6 separate regions of the Homo sapiens genome follow, and regions 1, 2, 3, 4 and 6 are each linked to region 5. The links are contacts of gene promoters, found by promoter capture Hi-C in human tissues and cell types (Jung and others, 2019). All regions are on one chromosome and are shown on one strand. The core of a region is centred on a gene start or on the middle of the fragment in contact, and the rest is flanking DNA. Distances in the headings are between cores, read along the strand shown. Region 1 holds the start of FBXO27 (F-box protein 27). Region 2 overlaps PAK4 (p21 (RAC1) activated kinase 4). Region 3 holds the start of CLC (Charcot-Leyden crystal galectin). Region 4 overlaps LEUTX (leucine twenty homeobox). Region 5 holds the start of RPS16 (ribosomal protein S16). Region 6 holds the start of MRPS12 (mitochondrial ribosomal protein S12).

Region 1 (3,102 bases), core at 149-2,648, 400 kb before region 5:
AGAACAGGCAGGCCTTTCTCAACAAGGGGCCGGACCTTTGGATAGCAGGGGCATTCACCTGAATGAAGTCACGAAGCACGTCTGAGAAGGGGCCCCAGGCACGGTTGTCCTGTTTTCCTCCACCACCCAGCCGTCCCCACCGTGTTGCACCATCCACTTTCGGAGGCCTTCTGTGAAATAAAAAAGGCTTGTGCCCAAGTTCCAGTCGCCCGCCTGTTGGTTCCTAGTGAGACCCCGCCCCTAGCCCCTCCCACGTGCTCACAGTGCAGCTCACTCACCTGACCCTTCCCACCGAGGCCCCGCCCCCTTCCCCTCCCACCAGCTCAGGGCAAAGCCCCGCTCCTCTGGCCCTTCTCACTGATTTGCAGCAAAGCCCTGCCCCTCCAACCCCTCTCTCGGGCTCCCAGAACTGCCCCACTCCCACCCCTCCCACAGGCAAACGGTGAAGCCCTGCCCAGTCAGCCCTGCACCCTGCGTGCCAATGCTGCCTCGTCCCTCCGACACCTCCCACCGGCTCCCAATGCTGCCCCGCCCCTCCGGCACCTCACACCGGCTCCCAATGCTGCCCCGCCTCTCCGACTCCTCCCACCGGTCCCACTGCGGCCCTGCCCCTGCGGCCCCTAGTACCGGTCCCAGTGCGGCCCCGCCCCTCCGGCCCCGCTACCGCTCCCACTGTGGCCCAGCATCCTGGACTTCCTCTTCCGAGATCCCACCTTGGCCGCAGGGGTTGCGAATAAGGTTGCGTCCGATGGGTCTGCGCGCGCAGAAGCGGCCCAGGGGGCAAGGCCTGGCGTTACGGGCGGGAGACTGGCAGCTGCGGGCGAGGTGCAGCAGCGCGCGGCCGGTGGCGCCGTGGTCGCGGGCCAGGATCAGCAGCCACAGGGCCTGGCCGTCCACCAGGGCTCGCCAGCCCCGGCACACTTGGCGGCAGCGCCCGAGCAGCGTGCGCGGGGGGACGTGGCTCAGCACCACCAGAAGCAGCTCTGGGGGTAGTTGGCTCAGGTCCAGCGCCTCTTCGGGTTCCGGCTCCGGCGCGGGGACCCGGGCGGCCCGGCCCCTGGAGACCGAGGCGCCCATGGTCCCCCCGCCAGGCCCGGCTGTGGCTGCGGGAGAGGAAGGGTCAAGGCGTCAGGGACCAGCAGCCTCCGCGGCGCGCAGCCTCTGCCTGCCCTGATTCTGCCAGCCGCACCCCCGTCTTCACCATCCCTGGGCCCCGTCCCCAAGTCCCCATCCCCCAGCCCGTCCTTGATAGCCCCGATATCCCGGAGACCCCGCGGTCTGTGTGTATGCCCCGAATTGCATGCAATCAGCCCCCCTCGGCGGCCGCACCGACACCGCACCCCAAGTCCTACCCCGGGGCCTGGCGGCGCTCCTCGCCGGGATGCCCTAGCTGTGCCGCAAGCTCCCCACGCCCCTCTGCGTCCTTTTTACTCGCCGGCCCCTCCCCTCTTACTAGCCAGCTTCACCCACCCCTGCATCCTCTTTCTTACTCGCCAGCCCCTCCCGCCTGCTCCCTCCCGCTCTCCAAACCCAACCTGCTTCCCGCGACGGGGCCAGGTGCAGCCAGGAGCCAAGGCCTGCTGCTCACAGCCGTCCCCTCCAGCCGGCCCCTTGAAGTGTCCCTAATTCGTTAGTAGCAATGAGACGTCTGGCTCTGAGCAACCATTGTTATTTTGGTCAGGCTTCTGAGTGGGAGGCCTCGTATCCGTTAACGTGTTAAAAAATTTCCATCACCTTTAAGGTCGGGCGTGGTTATCTTCATTTCACAGGAGAAAACAGGCTCCGGCTGCTAAAAATTAATGCAACCAATAGTAACACCAGCCAACTTTTATGGACGGTTTTACTGCCAGCCAGGGTGGCAACCCCATGAAGTAGGTGCTGTTATGCCCTTTACTTCACAGGTGAAAAAACTGAGACCAGCAGAGGCCAAGTGGCTTGTCTATGATCACCAGCTAGTAGGGATTTGAATCCAGCCAGCCTAGCTCCGGAATTCCTCATTTTAACCTCTAGATCAGCTCTGTCCAATAAAAATACAATTGTGGCTGGGTGCGGTGACTCATGCCCGTAATCCCAGCACTTTGGGAGGCCAAGGCAGGCGGATCGCTTGAGGTCAGAAGTTCGAGACCAGCCTGGCCAACATGGTGAAACCCCGTCTCTACTAAAAATACAAAAATTAGCTGGGCGTGGTAGCACGCGCCTGTAATCCCAGCTAATTTGGAGGCTTAGGCAGGAGAATTGCTTGAATCCGGGAGGGGGAGGTTGCAGTGAGCAGAGATTGCACCACTGCACTCCAGCCTGTGCAAAAGAGTGAGTGAGACTCCGTCTCAAAAAACAAACAGAAAAAAAAAATTGTGAAAGTTGATCATGTGAATTGGATCCTTCTTGTCATATCCAACTAAAACAAAGTTGAGAGGCCGGGGGGAAAACACTTAGGGCAGATACCATTGCTCCAAGAAAGTGATTCTCTGCAAGCCTGGCTGTTAAAACTGCCTGTTGTAACCTGGAAGCAGTCTAACTGGTACTGAAAAAACCTGCCGTGACTCTAAGACTAGTTTTTCCCTCTGCTGTCACTTACCAGTCAGAACTTGCCAGCTCCCCAGAACGTTGCTAGTGTCAATGAACTTTCTTGCAAAACAATACCTAACATTTCTGTTTCTTATAAAAACCTCTAACCTCTTTGTTCTTTGAAAGTTCTGAAGACCGCCTGGTCTGTGTGGATGCCTCGAATGTCAATTCTTGCTTCCCAAATAAAACATTTTATTATTTTTTTGAGACAGAGTCTCGCTCTGTCGCCCAGGCTGGAGGGCAGTGATGCAATCTCGTCTCACTGCAACCTCCGCCTCATGGGTTCAAGCGATTCTCCTGCCTCAGCCTCCCGAGTAGCTGGGATTACAGGCGCATGCCACCATGCCCAGCTAATTTTTGTATTTTTAGTAGAGACGGGGTTTCACCATGTTGGCCAGGATGGTCTCAAACTCCCGACCTCAGGTGATCTGCCCGCCTCAGCCTCCCAAAGTGCTGGGATCGCAGGCATGAGCCACCGCAACAAAACATTTTAAATCGAGAGATTTGTCTCTATATCTCTATATTTTATTTGGCTTC
Region 2 (3,382 bases), core at 574-3,073, 290 kb before region 5:
AGTGCAGTGGTGCGATCTTGGCTCACTGCAACCTCCGCCTCCTGGGTTCAAGTGATTCTCCTGCCTCAGCCTCCCGAGTAGCTGGGACTACAGGCGTGTGCCATGATGCCCGGCTAATTTTTGTATTTTTAGTAGAGATGGAGTCTCACCATATTGATCAGGCTGGTCTTGAAGTCCTGACCTCAAGTGATATAACCATCTCAGCCTCCCAAAGTGCTGGAATTATAGGCGTGAGCCACCGTACCCTGCCATAATCCTTTTTCATTTGTTTTTTGTTGTTGTTGTTTGAGACAGAGTCTCACTCTGTCTCCCAGGCTGGAGTGCGGTGGCACGATCTCGGCTCACTGCAACCTCCGCCTCCCAGGTTCAAGCACTTCTCCCTGCCTCAGCCTCCCGAGTAGCTGGGATTACAGGCGCCCGCCACCACGCCTGGCTAAGTTTTGTATTTTTTAGTAGAGACAGAGTTTCCTAGGCTGGTCTCGAACTCCTGACCTCAAGTGATCCACCCGCCTCGGCCTCCCAAAATGTTGGGATTATAGGCGTGAGCCACGGCGCCCGGCCCATTTGTTTGATTTGGGTCTGGACAAGGTCTACACTTTGCATCCGGTTGATAGGCCTCTTTTTTTTGTTTTGTTTTGTTCCCTTTGTTACCCAGGCTGAAGTGCAGTGGAGCGATCAGAGCTCACGTGCAGCCTTGACCTCCCCTGCTCAAGCAATCCTCCCGCCTCAGTCTCCTGAATAGCTGGGACCACAGGTGTGCGCCGTCATGCTCAGATACTGGCATCAGCTCTTTGGCGTGCATGTTGTCGTAGTTTTTCTACAGGCGACCTAGGCCATTTGTCCTGGAGTTTTGCAGTCTGGGGCCAGCTGATACATCCTTGTGGTGTCATTGCACGTGTTCTCTGTCTCTGTGCTTCCTGTAAGTTAGGACTTAGGTCTAGAAGCTCGATCTGATGCAGGTTCAGTTTCTTCTGGCAAGCACGCTTTCTTAGGTGGTTGCTTGGATGAGCATCAGAATTACTTACATGTCTGTATGACTGTCAAGTTCAGTTTTCAAGTAAAAATTAAGTTTTTTTTAAAAAAGCGAGTGGGTTGAGAAGAACACTCTGAAGTCACTCCTAGTAAGGCTGGTACCCAGATCCAGCAGAAGTAGGGTGGGAGGGACCAAAGGACTGAGGCTCGGGTCCCCCCTTCCCCACCCCCCGGGGCCTGGGAGCAATAGGCTGGGTGCCCCGGCTTCAAGTAAACCAGTGGCATTAACATGTGGGCCTCTGGTTCCTGCTTTGCTAGGGCCACAGGCTTCCAGCTGAGAGCTGCTGCCACCCACCCTGGCAACCCCTTCCGCATCGCGTGGTGGTGACACCTTCAGAACAGAGTGGTCTCCCACCCCAGCTCTACCCTTGGCTGCCTGTGTCACCCTGGGTGGCTTTCCCAGCCTCTCTACCTGCTTCCTTCTTGACAGCCTGATGGTGGCCATACGTCCCTTGGGCTGTGGTGACTGGGCCTCTGGGAGCTGCCCTTCCACTTCTGCATTTTAACATAAACCTCCTTGACCTCAGCTGCTCCATTCTCTGCTCCCTTCCAGCCACTCGGATTCCAGTCCTGGGGGCCTCCTCACTGACCATGCCCTCCACCCTCAGTGCTGTTCCCTGGTACTCTGCATGGCTTCCTCACCTGTATCCCGTCTTTGCTCAGACGCCACCCCTTTAGAGACCTCCCTGACTGTGCCCTCTGAAAGAGCACCTTGTCACTCTCTGTCCCTTCTCCCACTTGTTTACTTGTATATTGTGTTCCCACTAGAATGTCAACTCCAGGAGAGCAGAGACTCTTGTCTTATTCACTGCTGTGTCCCTGGTGCCTAGAACAGTGCCTGGCACCTGCTAAGTGCATATTAAGGAGTCGTTGCTCACTGGGTAGAAGCATTAAAAAAAAAAAAAAAAAAAGGCTGGGTGTGGTGGCTCACGCCTGTAATCCCAGCACTTTGGGAGGCAAAGGTGGGTGGATCACCTGAGGTCAGGAGTTCGAGACGAGCCTGGCCAACACAGTGAAACCCCGTCTCTACTAAAAATACAAAAAAATTAGCTTGGCGAGGTGGCAGGTGCCTGTAATCCCAGCTACTTGGGAGGCTGAGGCAGGAGAATCGCTGGAACCCAGGAGGCGGAGGTTGCAGTGAGCCAAGATCACACCAATGCACTCCAGCCTGGGTGACAGAGCAAGACTCTGTCTCAAAAAAAAAAAAAAAAAAAAAAAAAAAAAAAGAATTGTTGAGTGCATGAATGAATAAAAGAAAGAAAATGACTGGGCACAGTGGCTCACATCCCAGCACTCTGGGAGGCTGAGGTGGGCAGATCACTTGAGCCCAGGAGTTTGAGACCAGCCTGGGCTATAGTGAGACCTCTGCTCTACAAAACATTTTTAAAATTATTGTTTTAAAATAATTTAAAAATTATTTAAAATGTAAAAGGGCGTGGTGGCATGTGCCTGTGGTCCTAGCTACTCAGGAGGCTGAGGTGGGAGGATTGCTTGAGCCCAGGAGTTGGAGGCTGCAGTGAGCTATGATGGGGTCCTAGCTACTCAGGAGGCTGAGGTGGGAGGATTGCTTGAGCCCAGGAGTTGGAGGCTGCAGTGAGCTCTGATTGCACCACTACACTCCAGCCTGGGTGACAGAGCAAAACCTATGATGATAGATAGATAGATAGATAAGATAGAGCGAGCAAGACCCTATCTCAGGTAGATAGATAGATAGATAGATAGACAGACAGACAGACAGACAGACAGATAGATAGATAGATAGATTAGATTAGATAGATAGATAGATAGATAGATAGATATGGTTAAGTGAGTGGACTTTGGTCCTGGTCAGACTTGCCACGGAATCCCAGTTCTGATACACTCGCCGTGTGACTGAGGGCTGACATGTCTTCTCTCTGAGCTTCACTCTCCTGCTTCACACACCGTGTGAACGGCACCCTCCTCGCTGCCTTCTTTTGCACCAGGATGGAGCCTGCACGTAACACTTTGTAGTGGTCTCACTGCTGTCCTGTCTCCAGCACGGGGCACCGATGAGCCAGCCAGAAGCCGTCCCTGCCGGGGGGATGCTTGACCCAAATCTTCAGTAATAACTCCTTCCACTCTGGGTGACCAGCTGTGGTGCCCCAGGGCAGGGACTTGTTGATCTGGGTTTGTTCTGGAGGCCAGAAGGGTTTCCTGGGGACTGGGATTGGAGCAGGATTGAGAGTGCCTGGTATGTGGAGAGACCTGGCTGTTGTGGCATGAGTCCGAGGGCTCAGGGGCCGGCTGCTTCCCGGCCTTTGTCTTCCTTGCAGGAAACAGGCCAGGAGTTACAAGGGGCCAGAGGATGCTGCTGTGGTTATGGTGGAAG
Region 3 (3,376 bases), core at 290-2,789, 300 kb after region 5:
GCAGGCTGGGCGTGGTGGCTCACGCCTGTAATCTCAGCACTTTGGGAGGCCAAGGTGGGTGCATCACTTGAGGTCAGGAGTTCGAGACCAGCCTGGCCAACATGGAGAAACCCCATCTCTACTGAAAATACAAAAATTAGCCAGGAGTGGTGGCACAAGCCTGTAATCCCAGCTACTCGGGAAGCTGAGGTATGAGAATCGCTTGAACCCGGGAGGTGGAGGTTGCAGTGAGCCGAGATTGCACCACTGCACTCCAGCCTGGGAAACAGAGCGAGACTCTGTCTCAAAAAAAAAAAAAAAAAATTACTGCAGGTTTGAAGGCCTGGGCTTCAGTGAACCTCTTGCATATGCCCCCCAGCAGCTGGAACTACGGTATGCAACACCACATTCAATAAATTTTTAAATTTTTGGAAAGATGAAATCTTGCTATGTCTCCCAGGCTGGTCTACCAGTCCTGGCCTGACATGGGCCTTTCAATTCGGCCACCCAAAGTGCTGAGACTACAGGCCTCAGCAAACATCTTGATGAATATCCACTGTAAGCTCTGCCTTGTACCTTCCTGGTTTTGGGTGATTCAGTCTCTTAAATCAAGTCCCTCAATGTCCTTCTCTAGCATCCTGGCACTCAATGGGAAGGCCAGGCTAGGGTAGGAGACAGGGAGAGACCTGAGGCTGGAGGCAGGAGCCAGTGGTCACTGTGTGCAGATTCCACCTAAGGAACCATCAGCCCCATCGTCTGTTTCTCACCCCCATTCTGCTTGGGAAAAGGCACCTGAGAATTCATGCATTCTGCTCTCATAAATGCTCAGAGATAAGTCCTCGGTAACTCAAGGGCCCCAAGATCCCACAAGTTCTGTCACCGGGGATCCACAGTGATGCACAAGGGAAGTTAGACAGAGTACTGCTATGTGGGGAGGAACCTTCACATGCACAGAAGGCCACATGCATGTTCCCAGTTCAACACCCAGTCACATTCCAGCACACACACTCACAGTCACACAGAGCCGTGCCACTCACTGAGTCACACACACCTGCTCACTGTGCATATAAAGATGCTCATGCACTGGTCCGGCTGTGCTCACACACACACTCACATCACAGTCATGAAGACAAAACACAGTCACCTGATTACAATCACTTACACACCCACCCATATCCTGGAGGGCCATACACATCCCGTCTAAAGTCACATCATTTTTAGCAGAGTTTACTCTCATCAGATACCATCACATGCTCACAGAGGGTCACAATGTTCCAGCATCCACACCCCCTACCCCCCTACCCCAGGAGCATCTCAGATACCATAGCCCTAGGGTCTCTCTTCCACACACCCACAACTCTCAGTAAAGCATTCACAGTAGAAATTTTCATATTTTCATCCCATAAAATCTCCCTCTTCCCTTTTCTGTGTGACCTGAGATTATTGAAGGCTGTGCCTTTTTAACTCACGGGTAGCAGGGACATTGTTGTCTCCTTCTGGGTGGCTCTTCTGAATTGTGTCCAGACTTCTGTGTGAATCTCTGAGCTGCAGAATTTAAATGGCCCCTATCAGCCCTGCCTCTGGCTTTATTCCTGATTCCAAGCCCCTCCCAGGAAGGTTTCCTCACACAGTGAGAAGGGGTGGGGTGTCAGAAACAGACTCAGTCACAACCACACCTGTTTGGAGGCCTGTGCCTGTGATGCAGCAGAAACGACAGTGAGGGAGGTACTGGAGGAGGAAGGGGTCACCAGGGAAATGCACAGATAAAGACGATGGAGTGAGGATGAGTGGTGTGAGTTCCAGCCTCCATGCTTCTCATGAAGCCTTTTCTCCACTGTGCAGAATCTACCAGGAAGGTGTGCGTTCTCCTAACCTGTGCAATGGTAAAAAGCTGGAGATCCTGGGGGCAAGGCACTTGGCTTTGAAAGAAAATCCTCCTCCTCCTTCTCCAGTGGTTCTGGGAGAGCATAGATCTTGATCATTCGCAGGACCTGGGGACAGAAGTAGAGAAAACACTTGTGTCTTCTTTACCCACCCTCAGATCCCTTGGCTCTGCCAGGTGAGAGCCACTCCCACTCTGTCTCTCAGACACCTGGGCTTTAGGTACGCCCTCTTATTTCCCTATTTCTTTTCATGTGAATCAAAATCTGAGGCTGTCGTTCTCCTGCAGATTCTTGGAGAAAGGTGAGATTTCTCACTCATAAGTGGGAGCTAAGCGATGAGGATGCATTAGCATTAATATTAGTTGTGCTTGACCCGACAATAAATTCCACTTTCCCTGATCTAAAACCTTGACAATTCATTTCCAAGCATGCACTCCAAGATTCTGCTCATATAAATCAGCACAATCACACAGTTCTTTTGGTATATAACGTATTTCCTTAAGATTAATTTGTAATGTCATCCCACTGCATTCCTTGGGTTTTGACTCTGGGTATGGACATGGAAGCAATGAAAAGGGTCAGAGGCCACAATTAAGGAGCTTTGGAAACCCCGTTCTAGGCAACCACCCTCACACCCTGCCCAGAACTGTAGCTTGTAAGAAATTACCACAGAAGGGAAAGAGGAACTGCTTTTCCTTGCAACAGATATGCAATAGAATTTTGAGTAATATCCCAGCTATTCATCTGAACTGGGGAAGAAATATCAGTTCAGGGCGTCTGGCCACCTAGTAAGCTGTGGATAAAGATGTTGATGTTATTTACTTCTCAGGCATTCCAGCAATCCTTTCAGTGATGCAGAGAGATTGATCTTCTTTAACTTCCATATCCTCTGCACAATAGCCCATACTTCTGCTGGTTGCAACTATTTCTTCAGAAATCCATTATGCCCTACGACTTGCTTTCAGTCTTTCTTTTCAACTACATCTTTCCAAGCACACACTGTTCCCCCGAAAAACTTTAGGTTTTGTGTATGAAATTATATAATATCTGGGATTTGCTCTAAAATAATCTGGGGATGACAGTTCTCTCCTTTTGCAAACATTTGAAATTTTTTACAGTACAGTTTTTAATTAAGTAGCCAGTACATAGACTATATATAAAAGAAAAACAAAATTATCAGTACTGGCATGGCTATATCTTCAAGAAATGCTGTAGTATGAAAAGGCATGAAGAAAACATGCATAATACGAGACCAATTATTTTAACGACAAAAAAATAAAATTGATCTCATAAGTACACACAAACATTCATAAATGCACTAGAAAATGTCAAAAGAAGGCATTCCTTGTAGGGGGGGACACTGGGTTTAGAAGAAATGAGGTCAAGGTATAAATCTGTAATGTTTGAATTTTACCCACAAGAAGGTATTATATTACTTAAATGATTTGTATAAACATTTTAAAAATAAAGGTCATAATACAGTTAAAATTTTTAAAAAATTTAATCACAGTTTG
Region 4 (3,436 bases), core at 935-3,434, 350 kb after region 5:
CCTAAGCTCTTGATTCACAGGTCAAGCTTAGGAAAGAAGCTTACCTTTGGAATATACATATTTGCATTCTAATAAAACATTTTTAAATTTTTTTTTGTATTTTCGTAGGCTATTGGGGAACAAGTGGTGTTTGGTTACATGAGTAAGTTCTTTAGTGGTGATTTGTGAGATTTTGGTGCACCCACCAACCGAGCAGCATACACTGCACCATATTTGTAGTCTTTTATCCCTCACCCCCTTCCCACCCTTTCCCCCGAATCCCCAAAGTCCATTGTGTCATTCTTATGCCCTTACATCCTCATAGCTTAGCTCCCACTTATGAGTGTGAACATATGATGTTTGGTTTTCCATTCCTGAGTTACTTCACTTAGAATAATGGTCTCCAATCTAATCCAGGTTGTTACAAATATCATTAATTCATTTTTATGGCTGAGTGGCATTCCATCATATAATTTATATATATATAAATTATATATATATAAATTATAATATTTGTATTATATATAATTATATACAATATAATTTATATACATTATACATAAATTATTATATATATATACATATATATATATACACACACACACACACACACCACAGCTTATCCACTCAATTGATGGACATTTGGGTTGGTTCCACATTTTTACAATTGCGAATTGTACTGCTATAAACATACATGTGCAAGTATCTTTTTTGTATAATGACTTATTTTCCTCTGGGTAGATAGCCAGTAGTTGGATTGCTGGATCGAATGGTAGTTCTACTTATAGTTCTTGAAGGAATCTTTACACTGTTTTCCATAGTGGCTGTACTAGTTTACACTGCCACCAGCAGTGTAGAAGTGTTGCCTGTTCACTGCATCCACGCCAACATCTATTTTTTTTTATTTTTTTTATTATGGCCATTCTTGTGGTTTCGATTTGCATTTCCCTAATCATTTGTGATGTTGAGCATTTTTTCATGTTTGTTGGCCATTTGTATATCTTTTGAGAATTATCTATTCATGTCATTCATGTCCTTAGCCCACTTTTTGATGGAATTGTTTGGTTTTTTTCTTGCTAATTTGTTTGAGTTCGTTGCAGATTCTGGATATTAGTCATTTGTCAAATGTATAGATTGTGAAGATTTTCTTCTAGACTGTGGGTTGTCTAGAACTCTGCTGTTCCTTTTGCCATGCAAAATCTCTTTAGTTTAATAAAGTCCTAGCTATTTATCTTTGTTTTTATTGCATTTGCTTTTGGGTTCTTGGTCATTGTGTTGCTGTCTATCTCATTTCTTAGGTCTAGTGGATAAAAGGGCGTCCATTGTCTCCTAAAGTTTTTATTATTTTTTATTTATGCTCTCTATTTCACTGAAGATTTCTCCCCTCATTTCTTGTATCTTTTTTTTTAATTTCCTTAAATTGGGCTTCACTTTTCTCTGGTGCCTCCTTGATTAGCTTAATAACTGACCTTCAGAATTCTTTTTCAGGTATATCACGGATTTCTTCTTGGTTTGGATCCATTGCTGATGAACTAATGTGATTTTTTGGGGATGTTAAAGAACCTTGTGTTGTCATATTACCAGATTTGGTTTTCTGGTTCCTTCTCATTTGTGTAGGCTCTGTCAGAGGGACGGTCTAGGGCTCAAGGCTGTTGTTCAGATTCTTTTGTCCCACAGGTGTTCCCTTGATGTAGTACTCTCCTCATTTCCTTCCGAATTTTTTTAATGAAAGCCTTTTATCTGTTCCCTCTGCAGAAGGGCCAAGGCGTTATCGTCGGCCACGCACAAGATTTCTCTCCAAACAACTCACAGCATTGAGAGAATTGCTTGAAAAGACCATGCACCCAAGTTTGGCTACAATGGGGAAACTGGCTTCAAAGCTACAACTTGATCTATCCGTAGTAAAGGTCTGTTCCCAAGTGTGTCTGTAGGTAGCACGCCTAACCCAGAGCTTCACACACACTTTTGATCATTGTTATAACAGTTCCTATTTATTGGCAATTGCTATGTGTAAGGACAGATGTTAAGCACTTTATATTTTTATTGTCATGAGCACCCACTTTATTGAGGAACACTAAAGCTCACATAGAAGAGCTGTCTTCCAAGCATTATAAACACAAGAGTTGGAATTTGAACCCAGACCTTTCCAACTCCAGACCCACCATGCTACACAGGACTCTTTGAGGCTGGATCTCAGATACTCCCATTTGGGTCTGTTCTTGTGTATTCAGGATGGGTTCTGCTTAATCAGGACCATCACAGTCATCCAGATGCCTGTCACTAAGTTCCCACAAAGTATTCATGGGAGAACACCTGGATGAACCCTAAAGATGACCCAAGCTAAACTCTCACCCCATACTCTGACTTTAAAATACTTTCTCTGGGCACCAGGAATGGTGGCTCACACTTGTAATCCCAGCACTTTGGGAGGTGGAGGCAGGAGGATCGCTTAAGCCCAGTTTAAGACCAGCCTGGGCAACATAGCAAGACCATGTCTTTACAAACAAAAATTAAAAATTAACCAGACATGGAGGCACATGGCTGTAGTCCCAGCTACTTGGGAGACTGAGATAGGAGGATTGCTTAAGCCCAGGAGTTCAAGGCTGCAGCGAGCTATGATTGCAGCACTGCACTCCAGGCTGGGTGACAGAGTGGTAGCTTGTCTCAAAAAAAAAAAATACACCACTAATAAAAACACCCTTCTATTTAATACATCACAATCTAGGTCATATTCCACCCATTGCTAGTACAATCCTACACCCACTTTTCCCTTGAAACCCAGGACAGCAGAGAGTAGAAAGGGCTTCCCTTGTTCCAATAAATGTGAGACTCTCTCTCACACCAAAAAACCGAATTCCTGAGGAACATGAGGATGCCCCTTTATACTCAACATCCATTATTAACCTCCCCCCTCCTCCCTCCTTAGATCTGGTTCAAGAACCAGCGTGCCAAATGGAAGAGGCAGCAGCGGCAGCAAATGCAGACACGGCCATCACTAGGGCCAGCAAACCAGACAACTTCAGTGAAGAAGGAGGAGACTCCCTCAGCCATAACTACTGCAAACATTCGTCCAGTAAGTCCTGGAATCTCTGATGCAAATGACCATGATCTACGTGAGCCTTCTGGTATCAAGAATCCTGGAGGAGCCAGCGCCTCTGCGAGGGTTTCATCCTGGGATTCTCAGTCATATGACATTGAACAGATATGTCTGGGGGCTTCAAATCCTCCTTGGGCCTCCACTCTCTTTGAAATAGATGAATTTGTAAAGATCTATGACTTGCCAGGGGAAGATGACACCAGCAGCCTAAATCAATATCTTTTTCCAGTATGCCTTGAGTATGACCAGCTCCAATCTTCAGTGTAACTTCTTACACATCACTTCTAGGGGAGGTCTGGATCTGACCCACTGAGACATATTTCCACACATCTTTAATGGTTTGACCCCAGTCTAAGTAGA
Region 5 (3,470 bases), core at 416-2,915:
TGGATACTTCCTTTACCTGCTTTCAGCTCACAGGTCTCCTTCCCCAGTTCTGACCACTTTGGATCAGCTTCTGGTATTGGGCCCAGTCCTTCTCCCCAACTAGGCTGGCAGGTCCATGAAGGCAAGACCTTAAGTCATCTGGATCACTGCTATGTCCCCAAAACTCAACAGAGGGTACACATACAAATCCTTCAAATACAGTGACAGCCAATAACAGTAACATTCAACATCTGCTACACAAAGGAAATCTCAGAATTTTTATTAAATTCTAGGCCAGGCATGGTGATCACACCTGTAATCCCAGTCCAGGCAGAAGGATCACATGAGACCAAGGACCAGCCTGGGCAATAAAGTGAGACCCCACGTCTACAGAAAAATATTTCTCAAATGAGCCAGGCGTGGTGATGTGCCTGTAGTCTTGGCAACCGAAAGGCTGAGGTGGGAGGATCTCCAACTCAGGAGTTTAAGGCTGCAGTTCATTAGGATTGTGCTATTGCACTCCAGGGTAGGTGACAGCAAGATACTGTTTTTAAAAAAGAACCTTATAACTCAAAAAAAATTTTTTTAACTGACCCTGCAATGTAGATATTCTTTCTTTTAAAAGTAGTAGAGTTCAGAAGGGGCAGAAATCAGACTCTGGTTTCTTTCCATTCTGAGCCAAAGAAATTGAGAGTCCCAAAAAGGGAACAGAGGAACCCCTTTTACAAGCAAGCATTTAAACAGACCCAAATTCGGCCGCACACGGTGGCTGACGCCTGCAATCCCAGCACTTCGGGAGGCCGAGGCTGGTGGATCACCTGAGGTAATGAGTTCGAGACCACTCTGGCCAATATGGCGAAACCCCGTCTCTACTAAAAATACAAAAATTAGCCGGGCGTGGTGGTGCATGCCTGTAATCTCAGCTACTCAAGAGGCTGAGGCAGGAGAATCGCTTTAACCCGGGAGGCGAAGGTTGCAGTGATCCGAGATCGCGCCACTACACTCCAGCCTGGGCGACACAGCGAGACTCCCTCTCAAAACAAATAAATAAAATAAAAAATAGTCGGTGTCCCTTCACCCTTTGGGTCCCCCCGCCCCAGTGAGGTGAGCTTCCTAACATCCCAGTTCTCAAAGCAAACCCTTAATCTTCAACAACCCCATCTCAGCTTTTACATCTTCTGAACCCCAAGCCCAGCTCTATTGCCAAATACCCCACTGTTCTACACCCAACACAACTTCTAAACATCCCGTTGCTGATGCCAGCCCCCCCAGCTTTCAAGAGCTACAACATCTCTGTCTCCAAGAGTCCTCCATCCACTCAACGCCGGTGCCGGATCCCAGCACCTTGTACTGTAGCGTGCGCGGCTCAATCATCTCCAGGGGCCGCCCGTTCACCTTGATGAGACCATTGCCGCGTTTGCAGTGCGCCACAGCTGTCGCTGTCTTCTGTAAGATACAAGAGAAACAGGGGCCCCGTGAGCTCCGGCTCCAGCTCCCATGTTACCCCCTAGATTCCTGCCCACCGACCTCTCCCAGACCCTGGCCTTCTCCTTCCCCTCCCCTTCCCATCCGGCGTCTGGCTCACCTTGCGTCCGAAGACCTGCACAGACTGCAGCGGGCCCTTGGACGGCATGGCTCCGAGCGTGGACTAGACAACCTCACCGCGCGGCGCCGCAACCGGAAAAGGAAAGCTAGGGGCCACCCTGGCCGCTTTTCAGGGTCTGCGCAGGCGCCTTGAGCACTGCGTCGCGACGGGAGAGAGCTTTACGGCTTCTGTTGCGGCTAACGGGCGGGGCGTCTGGTCAGCGGCGGGAAGGCCCTTAGGCGCTCAGAGCGGGCGGGCCCTGTGAGGCGGAAGTGGCGGGCTCTGTGGGCGGAAGGGGCGGGGCCTGGGAGTGTCGTGTGCGGACTGAAGGGAAGGCTGCGGGAGTGTGCTTCGCGTCCTCTGTAGTCGACTACCGCAGCTCTTCTTTGCATTCTGGCTCTTTAATAATCTCCCTTCGCCCTTTCTTTAAATCAGTTCCCACCCTCCCAACACCTGTAATCTTTCTCCCCTCTGGACTCCCTCCTCCCCGAATCCCCCGCATCAGAATCTTCCTTTGGAATCTACTGCAAGAAATCTGGCTGGATTCTCAGATTAAGGACTTCCAGAATCCTATCCTCCCTAGAATCCCCCTCCTTGGGGATCCTCTCCCAGAATCCTTTTCCCCTCAGAGCCCCTTCCCCTCAGAATCTCCCTTTCACCAGAATGTCCTTCCTTTCAGTTTCCTCTTCCCAGAATGTTTCCCATCCTTCTCTCAGATGGCCAACCCCAAATGTCCCTCTTAAGAGTGCTCAACTTAGACCCCCCTTTTCCCTGAATCTCCCTCCATTCGGTCCTCGTCCCCTCAGTCACCCTTCCCAGAATCTTTCTCTTGTCAGGACCCAGTACCCCTGGAATCTCCCTCCTCCAGAATCTCCCTTTCCCGGCAAATCCCCCTTTCCCGGCAAATCCCCCTTTCCCAGAACACCCCGCCCCGCAAATCCACAAAAACTTTTCTCTCAGAGACCCGTCCCTCAAAATCTACCTTTCTCCTGAGTTTATTTCCCTTCCGAGACTCCTCTTCCCAGCAACTGCCTTCCCTGGAGTTTTCCCTCCGTTAGAATCCCCCTCTCCTAAGAGACCCTCCCCCAAGAATTAACCTCTTCCCCGTCCCCACCCTAGAATCTCTCTCTTTTTTTTGAGACGGAGTTTCGCTCGTTGCCCTGGCTAGAGTGCAGTGGTGCGATCTCGTCTCACTGCAACCTCCGCCTCCCGGGTTCAAGAGATTCTCCTGCCTTAGGCTCCCGAGTAGCTGGAATTACAGGCGTCTACCACCACGCCCTGGTCGTTTTTTGTATTTTTAGTAGAAATGGGGTTTCACCACGTTGGCCAGGCTGGTCTCGAACTCCTGACCTCAGGTGATGTGATCCGCCTCAGCCTCCCAGAGTCCTGGGATTACAGGCGTGAGCCACCACGCCCGGCCGAATCTCTCTGTTTTTTGTTTTTTTTTTTTCTTTTTTTTGAGACAGAGTCCTGCTCTGTCGCCCAGGCTGGAGTGCAGTGGCATGATCTCTGCTCACTGCAACCTCTGCCTCCCCGGTTAAAGCGATTCTCCTGCCTCAGCCTCTTGAGTAGCTGAGATTACAGGCATGCACCACCACGCCCGGCTAATTTTTGTATTTGTAGTAGAGACGGGGTTTCACCATATTGGCCAGACTGGTCTCGAACTCCTGACATCAAATGATCCACTCATCTCAGCCTCCCAAAGTGCTGGGATTACAGGCGTGAGCCACCGCGCCCAGCCCCTAGAATCTCTTTCTCCAGAATCTCCCAGTCATCTTTTTCCTCTCCCCCAAATCACCCTCCACTTAAGCCTCCTCCCCACAGAATTCTCCATCCCCAGCCCCCCAACCCCACCTGAGGAACCCCAGGATTGGGTTGTCCTCTGGTTCCCCGGCAGATGTCCCTG
Region 6 (3,154 bases), core at 36-2,535, 510 kb before region 5:
TTAGCTTCTCGAAGCCTTAGTTTCCCCTCTGATAAAATGGGAGAAATAATGGCACCTACTTCATAGAGTTGCTGTGAAAATTAAACGAGGTTAAAGTGAATAAAGCACTTCAAACAGGCTGGGAGGGGAGTCCAAGAGAGGAATGGGAAGACGTGGGGACCCCACTATCGTTAGCACCTCAACACAGAGATATTGTGAACCCGGTCCTAATTCCCTTTTATAAGTGCTAGCAATTTTATTATTATTCACCGCATATTTGCAACATCTAGAACACCGGAATATAGCAGTTGCACCTTAAGTATCAGTTTAATAGAACCATTCATTAATGGATTCATTCATTCATTCATTAACTCTATTTAACTGCCTGCTATGTGTGGCGGAGGTGCACAACTCTCCCTACCTCTCTCTCTAAACGCAAGAGCTCCACCACACCCCAGCCCTGACCCCGTCCGATTCACACTTGGCTCCCCATTTTCCTTTGTGGTCTTAGGGAAAGGCTGGCATGAGGTTGCAGCACGGAGGGCAATGTCACATAGCAAGTTCCTAAAGGACAGGAGGTACCCAGCGAGCAGTATGAAACAAGCGCATAATGGGTGTCCAGGACACAGTAGGCATTCTTGGCACATAGTAGGGCCTCAGCACTCACTGGACAACTGGCACATAAGTGGGTGCCATGCACAAGACGTTGGCTAACTTGGGAAATAACTAAAATTCCTACTACAGGTTCGCCCCCTGCCGGAGGGCATCTTGCAAACCCAATTCTTCCGTAAAGCAAACGTCTGCGCCCCCCGGCCGGCGCAGGCGCACTCACGATCGCGGGCAGGTCCGCCGAGCGCAGCTCCCCCTTGCGGAGCTCCAGGGCGTGTGCGGCCTCTTCTGGGCATGCGCAGAACCGCTCTATGTCCAGCTGAGGGAGTGCGCTGTAGCCCTCGCGCGCATACTCGTACAGGAGGTTCCGGTTTCGTTTCTCTGTAGTGAAACTTCTCCTTGGACTATCGTTGGAGATGCAGCCTCCCCGGGGCCGGAACCCCCGACGAGTCAGCAAAGGCCACAAGCGCCGCGCCATGGACGCAGCCATCTTGGACCGGGAACAAGGCGGCACTTCGTCCCGCCCACTCCGCGTTTAGACCAATTGCAAGGCAGCGAACCTGACCGTGACGAGCCAATCAGATCCTGAGGAAAGTTGACCGCGATAGAGTCCTTCGTCGCCCAATCGTCGTCTGTGTCCCGCCTCTTCAGTGACGCGAGGCAGAACCAGCCAATCCCTGCACGGATAGCGCCCGGAAGAGGCTAGAAGCTGGATTCAGCGTGTCCGCGACCTCACCTTTAGGTCCTGTGAGGTCGGTGGAATCCTGGGGTCCTCCAAATCTACCAGGCCATCTCCCCAGTTTCCCAGTTCTTCCTGCGTGCGGGCGAGAGTGGTTGGGCCCTCGGGAACCCACTCAGAGCGAGGCTAAATTTACGGAGGGACTTTCTGTTAGCAGCATGAGGGCCTGTGGTTAGACCTATAGAGGTATTTCCTTTGATTTAAGCCAGAAAGTCCTGAGAGCGGATCGGGGAGCATTTGCGGATCGGTCACTTTTTCCTCCTTTCTGAGTCTCTTATCCCCTACCACAGGGACGGCCCAGGTGGCAGGATGTCCTGGTCTGGCCTTCTCCATGGCCTCAACACGTCCCTAACTTGTGGTAAGTGGGGGACTTGGGCTTCAGGGACGAGGCTAGAGGGGGAGGGTTATTCGCTCTTGGACTTGTGTGCCTCCGTCGGAGCCCCGAGGGAAACGGGGGTGGAAAAACACGGTGGGGTTTTGGCAGAGCTAGGGCTGCTAGAGCAAGAGGTGGGAAGCAGCTGCATGGAGGGCTACTGCGTGTCAAGCGGCGTTTGGGTCAGTTTTATTATTTATTTATTTAAGATCTCCCTCTGTCGCCCAGGCTGAAGTGCAGCGGTGTGATCACAGCTCACTGCAGTCTCGACCTCCTGGGCTCAAGTGATCCTCCCGCCTCAGCCTCCCAAGTAGCTGGGACCACAGGCCTGCAGAACCACAACCAGCTAACTTTTTGATTCTTTGTAGAGAGGGAGGTCTCCCTGTGTCGCCCAGTCTGGCCTTAACTCCTGAGCTCAAGTGACCCTCCACAGCCTCCAAAAGTGCTAGGATTACATGCATGAGCCACTGAGCCTACTATTATTTTAAACAGCATTAAAAATAATGCTTCCTGGCCAGCCGTGGTGGCTCACGCCTGTAATCCCAGCACTTTGAGAGGCCGAGGTCAGGAGTTCGAGACCAGCCTGACCAACATGGTGAAACCCCGTCTCTACTTAAAAATACGAAGATTAGCCGAGCGTGGTGGTGGGTGCCTGTAGTCCCAGCTGCTCAGGAGGCTGAGACAGGAGAATTGCTTGAACCCAGGAGGCAGAGGTTGCAGTGGGCCAAGATTGAGGTACTGCACTCCAGCCTGGGCGACAGAGTGAGACTTTGTCTCAAAAAAAAAAAAGAAAAAAAAAAAAAAGGTAATGCTTCCTTGAAGAATAAAGAGTTACTTTTGTCTGTAGATAACATTAGATGTGAACAAATGCATCTTTGTAAAGTGCTTTAAACAATGCCTAAAACACCAAAATTGAGTTGCTACTACTCTAAGATCTGTTCTCTGGGATAATAACCCCTTTCGGCCCTCTCCAGGCCCAGCTCTGGTTCCCCGGCTCTGGGCTACCTGCTCCATGGCTACCCTGAACCAGATGCACCGCCTGGGGCCCCCCAAGCGGCCGCCTCGGAAGCTGGGCCCCACGGAAGGCCGGCCGCAGCTGAAGGGTGTGGTCCTGTGCACGTTTACCCGCAAGCCGAAGAAGCCCAACTCAGCCAATCGCAAGTGCTGTCGAGTGCGGCTCAGCACTGGCCGCGAGGCCGTCTGCTTCATCCCTGGGGAGGGCCACACCCTGCAGGAGCACCAGATTGTCCTTGTGGAGGGCGGCCGCACCCAGGACCTGCCAGGCGTCAAGCTCACCGTTGTGCGTGGCAAGTACGACTGTGGCCACGTGCAGAAGAAGTGACGGCTGGGGGCACAGTGGGCTGGGCGCCCCTGCAGAACATGAACCTTCCGCTCCTGGCTGCCACAGGGTCCTCCGATGCTGGCCTTTGCGCCTCTAGAGGCAGCCACTCATG

The links. Contacts are between HindIII fragments. The study calls those that stand out against the background at their distance.
Region 1: the fragment with the promoter of FBXO27 here is called in contact with the fragment with the promoter of RPS16 in region 5 in 1 of the 25 tissues and cell types used here (liver).
Region 2: a fragment that was not itself captured here is called in contact with the fragment with the promoter of RPS16 in region 5 in 1 of the 25 tissues and cell types used here (lymphoblastoid cells).
Region 3: a contact is called between the fragment with the promoter of CLC here and the fragment with the promoter of RPS16 in region 5, in 1 of the 25 tissues and cell types used here (neural progenitor cells).
Region 4: a contact is called between a fragment that was not itself captured here and the fragment with the promoter of RPS16 in region 5, in 1 of the 25 tissues and cell types used here (lymphoblastoid cells).
Region 6: a contact is called between the fragment with the promoter of MRPS12 here and the fragment with the promoter of RPS16 in region 5, in 1 of the 25 tissues and cell types used here (small bowel).

Annotation. Positions count from the first base shown.
Region 1 is chr19:39,031,151-39,034,252 of GRCh38, forward strand. It overlaps FBXO27 (F-box protein 27), which reads right to left and starts at 1,399. Exons shown (of 6, transcript NM_178820.5): 1 at 1,353-1,399; 2 at 714-1,103; 3 at 59-170. The coding sequence starts at 1,077. RefSeq lists enhancers at 1-87, 494-1,286 and silencers at 196-378, 228-467, 618-697, 898-1,047, 1,108-1,177. The HindIII fragment of the contact is 13,585 bases long and covers 1-3,102 here.
Region 2 is chr19:39,141,366-39,144,747 of GRCh38, forward strand. All of the region lies in intron 1 of PAK4 (p21 (RAC1) activated kinase 4), which reads left to right. Among named protein-coding and RNA genes, the nearest start is that of PAK4-AS1, 6.5 kb to the left of the region's middle. RefSeq lists an enhancer at 2,725-3,382. The HindIII fragment of the contact is 5,182 bases long and covers 1-3,382 here.
Region 3 is chr19:39,736,490-39,739,865 of GRCh38, forward strand. CLC (Charcot-Leyden crystal galectin) reads right to left here and starts at 1,540. Exons shown (of 4, transcript NM_001828.6): 1 at 1,449-1,540. The coding sequence starts at 1,463. The HindIII fragment of the contact is 10,513 bases long and covers 1-3,376 here.
Region 4 is chr19:39,782,793-39,786,228 of GRCh38, forward strand. LEUTX (leucine twenty homeobox) reads left to right here. Exons shown (of 3, transcript NM_001382345.1): 2 at 1,735-1,886; 3 at 2,906-3,436. The coding sequence ends at 3,343. Among named protein-coding and RNA genes, the nearest start is that of LEUTX, 5.7 kb to the left of the region's middle. The HindIII fragment of the contact is 5,263 bases long and covers 1-3,436 here.
Region 5 is chr19:39,434,284-39,437,753 of GRCh38, forward strand. RPS16 (ribosomal protein S16) reads right to left here and starts at 1,666. Exons shown (of 5, transcript NM_001020.6): 1 at 1,565-1,666; 2 at 1,324-1,425. The coding sequence starts at 1,612. RefSeq lists enhancers at 860-1,439, 3,103-3,470 and a silencer at 1,820-1,919. The HindIII fragment of the contact is 40,426 bases long and covers 1-3,470 here.
Region 6 is chr19:38,929,659-38,932,812 of GRCh38, forward strand. It overlaps MRPS12 (mitochondrial ribosomal protein S12), which reads left to right and starts at 1,286. Exons shown (of 3, transcript NM_033362.4): 1 at 1,286-1,340; 2 at 1,618-1,685; 3 at 2,675-3,154. The coding sequence starts at 1,637. The coding sequence ends at 3,042. It overlaps SARS2 (seryl-tRNA synthetase 2, mitochondrial), which reads right to left and starts at 1,105. Exons shown (of 16, transcript NM_017827.4): 1 at 812-1,105. The coding sequence starts at 1,078. RefSeq lists an enhancer at 730-1,189. The HindIII fragment of the contact is 13,053 bases long and covers 1-3,154 here.